Linked DNA regions of Homo sapiens: region 1 is linked to region 2. Evidence: promoter capture Hi-C in 16 types of primary human blood cells and fetal thymus (Javierre and others, 2016). All regions are on one chromosome and are shown on one strand. Each heading gives the region's core, a stretch centred on a gene start or on the middle of the fragment in contact. The rest is flanking DNA. Distances are from core to core; before and after follow the strand shown.

Region 1 (4,123 bases), core at 1,303-3,802, 2.4 Mb before region 2:
AATTGGAAGTTCAGCATGGAAGAAAGACATTAAACAAACACACAAATTATATAGTTATAACTGTTACAAATGACAAACAGAAAAATCATAATATGGCCATGACTGTTAAAAAAAAAAAAAAAGAAGAAGAACAAGACCAAGAAAAAGATAATCAGTCTGGTATGAGGGCTCACACCTGTAATCCCAGCACTTTGGGAGGCTGAGGTGGGCAGATCACTTGAGGTCAGGAGTTCGAGACCAGGCTGGCCAACATGGTGAAACCTCGTCTCTATGAAAATAAAAAAATTAGCGAGGCATGGTGGCACACCTGTAATCCCAGCGACTTGGAAGGCTGAGGCAGGAGAGGGAGGCAGAGGTTGCAGTGAGCCAAGATCACGCCACTGCACTCCAGCCTGGGTGACAGAGCAAGACTCCGTCTCCAAAAAAAAAAAAAAAAAGAAAAAGAAAAAAAAAGAAAATCACAGGATGCAATAAGCACACGCCAGCGCATGTTCTTCATACCACAGAATGTAACCCATTTGTGGTGGTCCTGTAGTTTTTACCTTTTGATTAGTTCTTCAGGGGTGAGCTCAGTAAATCATCCCTTTCCACATTTCCTAAACCCACCTCTCAGGGAAGGCAATTCTCTGAATTGCCTTCCCTGAAGGCAATTCAATGAAGGTTCTATGCCTGTGTTTCGGTTTATCATATTTATTTTACAGGTTGGAAACTGTACACTTATCTTTCTCCCACTGGTCTTTGAGCTCCGTAAAGTTAGGGCCTCTGACATTTGTCTTAGTGCCCAGTATTTGCCACTCATTCACCGAGAAACATTTACAGAATGCCTAAATTCCAGGTACCAGGCTGCTGGGCACTGAATTCACTCATTTGCCCATCTACTCATTTATATCACAGCACCCAGTACATAACAGTCATTCAACATGAACTAAGATGTTGCACCCGAAGAAAATCACTAGTCAGTGCCCTTGGAGGGGAGAAGAAAAAGGACTAATAGACCTCTGCATACACCCAAAGGACATTTTACCTAATTTTAAATCTCCTTTACTCCCAAATGTAGACATGTAGGTCTACATTCTCTCAGACAGATGAACTTTGGAATCCATCTTCCCACATCACCAAAAAGTTTCTGATATTAAAACGTGTTATCATTTTTTCTGAATTGACAATGAAACAGTACTGATACTCCCTGCAGGAAATTTTGCTTACCAAAGCTGCAATGGTGTTGAGACTGATATACCAACAATTTCCCTTCCTGTGTCCAAAAGATCCAGCAAACCTCAGTTTCCAATGACAGGCAGTGAGATGTCACATTTCTAGGTAGGACCCTTCTAATCAACATTACACAGATTGAAACTGAGCTTCTCTTATCAGTTAGGAGATCTCAGAAGTTTGGTAGTTCTAAGCAACTTCAGAGGGGCTAGGAAGTCACTCAATCAGTTTGATTATAAAAGACATACAAGCTTCTTGAACTTCAGAAGAAATTAACATCAAAACACCATATCAGACTCCCAAATGACTTACTTTCTCCTGAAAGTAGTTTGCTGACAAGTTATAAATTTCCACAGTGCCATCTGTTCGTGAAACAGCCAATCTGTTTGACTGGTTATTGTAAGCCACACAGCGGATTCCTGATGGAACATAATTAAAGAAACGTACTCGATGGACCTTAAATTCACCCATTCCTAGGGGGCGAAAAGAGAGTCATTATTGCTATATGTTAACTGCAGTATGTCACATATAGTATTCAGTTCCTTAATATCACTGTTCTGGCTGGAAGGCTCCAACAACATCTCCCTGAAGTTCATTTCCAAATGGCTGCTAACAATGCCCCCCACAAGAATTACTCAATCTTCAAAAGCTCAGAATGGCTTGAATAATAAGGAGGCTTCAGCAAAAAATCAAAAAGGGTCCTACTCCATAGCTCCAGAGTTCCTATCTCGGGGCGCCTAGGAATCCGCATTTTAGCAAGCATCTCTCCTCAACTCTATTGCTAAGTTTGCAAACAACAGACCTAAACTGAGGTAGTGACAGTGAGGCTGATGGGGCAGGCAGAACCGAGCTCCTCTTGAGGAAGAAACGACAGGGTTTGACTTAATCTGGCTGCCTGGTCTGACGTCTGTCACTTACCCTACCCCGTCCCCCCGACGCCCGCCAACATATATACTGGCCGAGAGTAGAGACCAGGTCTTGTTCGCCCCTCACTGGCCTAGCTTCAAGGTTAGGAACCCGCAGACAGAGCAAGCGCGTTCGGTCGGGCCGGGGCGTCTGAGGCGCGCGCGGTCTTCGCCTCCCCTTCCCTCTCCCCGAGTCTACAGAGTAGCCCCCACCCCGCCTCGGGACAAGGAGACCCTCGGGACAAGGAGCTCAGCCGGACGCCGACCCTGGGCCGGCCACCTTGTAAGACCCCCCCAGCTCTCGCAGCCGCTTCCCACGCCCCTTCCCCAACTCACCAGCGGCCCCACGCTCCCCTTCCCGGTGCTCGCCTCTCTCCGCCCCGGCCCCACGTGCGCGCGCGCTCTCAGGCTCTGCCCCGGAAGTGCTCCTGGCGCATAGTCGGAAGTGCGCAGGCAGTGCTCGCGGCGGCGGCGACGGCGGCGGGAGGTTCGGTTGTCGCCCGTTGGCCGCGCGGCGCCGCGCTCGGCGGCCGCCATTGCAGGTCAGGCCGCGGGCGGGGGGCACGGGAGGCTGCGGGGAGCGAGGGCCGAGCCGGGATTGGGGGCGAGGGCGCGAGGGAGCGGGAAGCTAGGGAGCCGGGGCCGGGCGGGGCGCGCGGCTCGGAGAGAAGAATGGCGAGCCGAGGGGCGGGGAGCGCGGGCGGGGGAGGGGTGGCCGGGAAGGGGGAGGGCGGCGGGAGGGCGGCGCGGAGGTGGGGGCAAGCCCGGAGGGGCCTCCGGGGTGGGAGGGCCAGGAGTGTGGGGGAAGGGAGCGGTGTGGAGACGGAAGGCGGAGGGAAGGAAGGGAGCGAGCGGGGCGGAGCGGGAGAAGGGCGGAAAGGGTGGCCGAGCGCGGGCGGAGGACGGAGAAGGGGGCGGCGAGGGCCGGAATCTCGAGGTACGTGCGGGAAGGGGCTCTTCCCGGGGTTGGGAGGGAGCCCAGCCCGCTATGCTTGCGGGAGCGGAGTAGAACTGGAACCTAGGAAGTAGCGGGAAGAGCAGAAAGGGGAGTTCGGGGTGGGGGTTAGGACCGTGAGGTTTTGTTCCAGGTAACATTTGTAATCGTGGAGGGGGGAGGCTTCTGGGAGAGGTAATTGGAAGGGTGGTTGGAGAGTCATTCCAGGTTCTTTTGTGGGAGGGAAGCCGAGAGACGAGTGGGGTGGGGTCCTGGAGGAGTGGAGTACTTGAGAACCGGGAACAATTTGGAGAACGAGGGTGGTAGAGAAAGGACGTTTAAAGAGTAATCTTTGGGAAGAGGGTGAACGGTTTGGAAGACCACTCCAGTGGGTGGTGTGGAGGAAGGCGGTTTAAAGAATAGTTTCCCTGGGAGGCAGGAAAAGGGGTTAAAACAGCTTGTAATTTGGAGGGGGGTGGAGAAGAGGGGGGAAGCGGATTGAGAAGTCCCAGAAAGTGGGTGGGACTAGAAATAGGAAGTGTTTGTAGCTCTAGCAGAAAGGGTGGGAGGGGGCCGAGAGGGAGTGGGTGGAGAAGATGGGGGTGGGTGGGAGGAAGAGCACAGAGGGAGACTCTACGCCGGGCTAGAAAGGAAAGGGTTTGGGGGAGTACAGGGGGCCGTACCATTAAGAGGAGGACAGGCTAAGATGGGGCTGCAGAGTAGCAGAAGATGGAGAAAACTGCAGTAACTCAGATCGACTGAAGCCATCTTTTCCACCCATTGCTACAAATACCAGTAATTGATTCCCTCCAACGTGGGAATCCTAAAATGTGATGGGAAGTATCACGTGTATGCATAGCATCCACACACGTTTTTGAACACACTTCACTAATGTAAAGTTTGGAAGCATTCAATTCCACCAACCCTCCATAAGCCCCTTTTTGGAGGGGAGCAAGATTCTCATTTGGAAACAGGATTTTAGACTTAGTAACATAAGCCTTTCAAGAGACAAGATCCCCTTCAAAAGTATAGACCTGTCCCCTTCAGTTACAAAACCACGATAACACTACAAATA
Region 2 (3,973 bases), core at 1,093-3,592:
GTCACTGACCACTGGATACCTCTGTCTTTGCAAAATGTGTCCAGAAATGTCACCCTAAGAAATCCAGCCTGACTGGCATGGGGGGCTAGCTTCTTTGTTAGCATCAGTGAGGTTTTATGGGTTCTACCCTAAGATGTTTCTTGGCATTCTACATGACCAACTCTTAGATTATAGTTAATACAGTAATGACGTTTAGATTATCATTTTTATTTCAAATAATTTCCTATCCTATTCCTATGCATTTTTAAATTAAATTTTACTTTATTTGACAGTCTTACTCTGTCGCCCAGGCTAGAGTGCAGTGGTGTGATCTCAACTCCCTGCAGCCTCTGTCTCCTGGGTTCAAGCAATTATCGTGCTTCAGCCTCCCAGGCAGCTGGGATTACAGGCGGATGCCACCATTCCTGGCTAATTTTTTTTTTTTTTTTTTGTATTTTTAGTAGAGACGGGGTTTGGCCATGTTGGACAGGCTGGTCTGGAACTCCTGACCTCAAGTGATCCGCCAGCCTCGGCCTCCCAAAGTGCCGGGATTACAGGTGTGAGCCACCGTACCTGGCCTTCCTATGCTTTTTTGTTAAACTCTTCCACAGGACTTTAATAGTTCCTGCTAAATTTCAACTTGTTAGATTTAGTCTCTGCTCAGTTTGTCATGCAGTAGATAAGGCAACCCTTCCTGCTTCAGGTCATCCACAACTTCCATGACTGCTGCTGTATTCTTATCCAAGTCACTGATGGCACCCTGAATTGGCTGGCCAGGGCAGGAGGTTTGGGCAGGCCCCTAGCAGCCTCATCTGCTGGTCCCTCCTCTTCATCAGCCACCTCTGGGCTAGTCTTTAATAAGCCTCAGTGCTATCATCCAGCATTGATTTCACTTTCGCATCTAAGATGTGAATTGTCAAATGCCCTGTTGAAATCTGCATTTGCTGTATCTGCAGCATCCGCCTACCTGGTACTCCTGCAAAAAAGAAAGATACTGTGTAAATCTGGTATTCTCTTTTCCTTTAGTGTTTAATCACAAAATTTCACTTAGTGCTGATTAAGCTCACTGGCCTGTAATTTTCATCTCCATCTTCTGTCCTGTGAAAATTCAGCACTGCTTGCCCTTTTAGGACTTCTGGCACTTTGCCTGATTTTCCCAGATTTCCAAGGGAGGAACTCAGTGGGTTTTCACTCTCGTCTTGTTTAAACCTTACATCCAGTTTGGCAGATGATATGCCCATTTGTTTTATCCCGTAATTCATGCCGCCAGATTTTTTGGCATCAGGATCACAATCCTACTCATCTGAAACCTACTTAGGTGGTGCTTTTCTGCCACATTCCACTTCCTTGTGATATTTAGAAATGTCTTGTTAGCCTGTTTCCATAGAGAATGGCAAGAGCCCTCAAGTAGAGGCCACACCTAAAATTAAGCTTGATAATGGAATGTATGTTTTTCCTTCGGTTACTCTCCGCTCTTTCCCTTTTCCATCCCCTTTCCTTTTATTTTTCTCCCCGCTCTGCACCTGCCAGCTGGCCCCCAAGGAAATTAAGGGCTCCTCTTCTGGTGTGAAATGCTGGCTCCCTGAAAACATCATTTTAAAAAGCATGTTAATAAAGCAAAGCCAAGTGTATTATGCACTGCGGTCAAGAGCACTACTTCACAGTCTTTAGTCTTCGGAGGAGGAGGGGGAAATGCAGGATATTTATGAGGATTCTGGGGTCTTCCTTAAGGCTAGTCTTTCAATGCAGGGCTTGAGTAGGGTTAGGCCAAGTTCATGATATAATGGTCCAAGGTTGGGGAATAAATTAGAAGTACCGAATGTTATCTTCTAGCCTTGGGTCCTTGGGTGGGTTTCTTAAATTTTTTGAGCTTCAGGTTCCTCATCTGTGAAAGGGTTAGATAAGATTCAGTGAGATAATGTGTGACTCTGGCACATGGTGAGCTCTAGATAAATGGCGCTTTTGTGTCCATCAGTCTCATTCCCAAAGCCTAGGCTTTCGGGTCGGTCATCCGGCTGCCCGACCCGCGACGGCGCAGGGGAATCGGCGAGCGTGGCGGGGTGCTGCGCTGCGCCCCTCAGCCGGCAGAGGCCGCCAGCGCGCCCTCGGTCCGGACGGTGCCCGCCCCTGCCACCGCCTCCCCGCGCATGGCTGCCCCGGCGGCTGCCTGACCGCCGCCCGCCACCTCGGCGGCCTCGCAACCCGTGGGAGCCCGTGGCCATCGCAGACCTAGAGGACACGTTGGGCGGCGCAGTCGCCGCGGCAAGGTCGGCGGGCGGCGCGGCGCGAGGGACGGCGAGCGGGGGGCGGCCCGGCCCGGGTCCTCGCGGGTCCTCGGCGGGCCCGGGGGAGGGCCCTCTTTGTGGCTGCAGTTGGCAAGATGGCGCCGGTGGGGGTGGAGAAGAAGCTGCTGCTAGGTCCCAACGGGCCCGCGGTGGCGGCCGCCGGCGACCTGACCAGTGAGGAGGAGGAAGGCCAGAGCCTATGGTGAGGCCGCGGGCGGTCGGGCCGGGCCGTGGGGGGCGCGGCCTCTGGGCCGGACCGTCGGACACACTGAGGGGCCGACGCGAGCCGGGCCATCCCAGCCCGGCCCGGGGCTGACCACTCTTGCCATTGTCGCCACAGGTCCTCCATTCTGAGCGAAGTGTCCACCCGCGCCAGGTCCAAGCTGCCGTCCGGCAAGAACATCCTGGTCTTCGGTGAGCGCCGGCGGCGGGGCGTTGCCCCAGGTCGCTGGGGTGGGCGAGGCGGGCGCCCCTCCCTCAGGTCCCCGCCTTCCCCGTTCCAGCCGCCTGCCCGCAGCCTGGCGGGAAAGGGACCGTCGGCCCTGGCCGGTCAGCTGGAGAGTGGTCAAGCCTCCAGCGCCTGAGGGTGGGATGCTGCCCTCTTTGGAGAGCGTAGTGGTGCTTTGGGGTTGTCGGCATATTGTTTCAGTCACTTGGCCCTCTATGCCTTCATTGCCTCGACGGTTACCAAATTGAGGTCGTGGAGAGGGGAAGCTAGTAGATGAGATTAGGTGGAGAAGGTGGGAGAACGAGGTGACCTGGGCTCGGAGCTGTGGGGAAATGACCACGGGAGCCTTCTTTGAGCCTCATCAGTAGTGCATAGTCCGAGGTTTTAGGGACTTTGCAGAGGACAGAGAGTCAGCACTGGGGACGTTTCCTCCATTATGCTAGCCCTCACTGCTAGGTTACCTGAGTCAGGTCCCTTACTCCCTCTGGCCTCACTCTCCTCAAGTGAGGGAGTTTGGGTACATTCACACAGCAAGTCCATTTGTTGCTTGGGACCTGTGGGCTGGGCACAGGCTCAGCATAGGCGACTCTTAAACACTATAGAAGAATCTCAGTCTGGTGGAAGACAGATGTATTGGTGATTGCATTGCACCATGCCGATTATTGTGGAAGCATTACACTGCTTAGAGCTGGTGAAGGAGGATGATTCGGGGGTTGAGTATTTTGCAGAAAAGTGTCAGTATGCAGGGACACAGATGACAAGAGGGTGTGGGGTTTGGAAACTGCTAGAAGCGCCTTGTGGTTGGTGGCTGCTAAGGTAAGTTGGGGGCAGATTGTGGGAAGGCTGAAGAGTTAGTGCTGTTTCCTGAAGTTCTCTGATTTTTCAAATGGCTTTTATCTCACCTCCATCCCCCAATTCCCATGGGAATCACTGCCTTGGTAGTTTTCCTACTGTTAGAATGTGTGACCTTTCTCAGGAATTGACTGTGGTAGGTAATACCGGACCCTTAGAGATCTTCAAGAAGTGGGGGATCAAGATCACCAGATCTGAGTTTTAGAAAGAACGCTGCCTGCAGAGGGACAGTAGCTCAAAATGAGCAGGTACTGAAGTCAGGCTGACAGGTCCTCACCTTGGTCTGGATGCAGAGGGCCTGAATAAGGTAGAGGCATTGGAGATGGAGAGGAGGTCTTTGATCTGTGGACTGACTGCCTTTCAATTCTCATGTTCTGTAATTCCATATTATTAAATGGCAGAAGTGCCT

The links. Contacts are between HindIII fragments. The CHiCAGO score rates a contact against its expected background, and 5 or more counts as called.
Region 1: the fragment with the promoter of CHTF8 here is called in contact with the fragment with the promoter of DYNC1LI2 in region 2 in 1 of 17 cell types (total B cells); the score reaches 5.1 in total B cells.

What each region holds. Positions count from the first base shown.
Region 1 is chr16:69,131,017-69,135,139 of GRCh38, reverse strand. It overlaps CHTF8 (chromosome transmission fidelity factor 8), which reads left to right and starts at 2,552. Exons shown (of 4, transcript NM_001039690.5): 1 at 2,552-2,656. DERPC (DERPC proline and glycine rich nuclear protein) reads left to right here and starts at 2,552. Exons shown (of 3, transcript NM_001002847.4): 1 at 2,552-2,656. It overlaps UTP4 (UTP4 small subunit processome component), which reads right to left and starts at 2,491. Exons shown (of 17, transcript NM_032830.3): 1 at 2,451-2,491; 2 at 1,522-1,682. The coding sequence starts at 1,680. RefSeq lists silencers at 2,443-2,802, 2,823-2,972. The HindIII fragment of the contact is 3,017 bases long and covers 1,463-4,123 here.
Region 2 is chr16:66,749,978-66,753,950 of GRCh38, reverse strand. It overlaps DYNC1LI2 (dynein cytoplasmic 1 light intermediate chain 2), which reads left to right and starts at 2,342. Exons shown (of 13, transcript NM_006141.3): 1 at 2,342-2,466; 2 at 2,605-2,678. The coding sequence starts at 2,360. It overlaps DYNC1LI2-DT (DYNC1LI2 divergent transcript), which reads right to left and starts at 2,199. Exons shown (of 2, transcript NR_133569.1): 1 at 1,051-2,199; 2 at 1-955. RefSeq lists an enhancer at 1,986-2,701 and a silencer at 1,915-2,714. The HindIII fragment of the contact is 3,643 bases long and covers 1,413-3,973 here.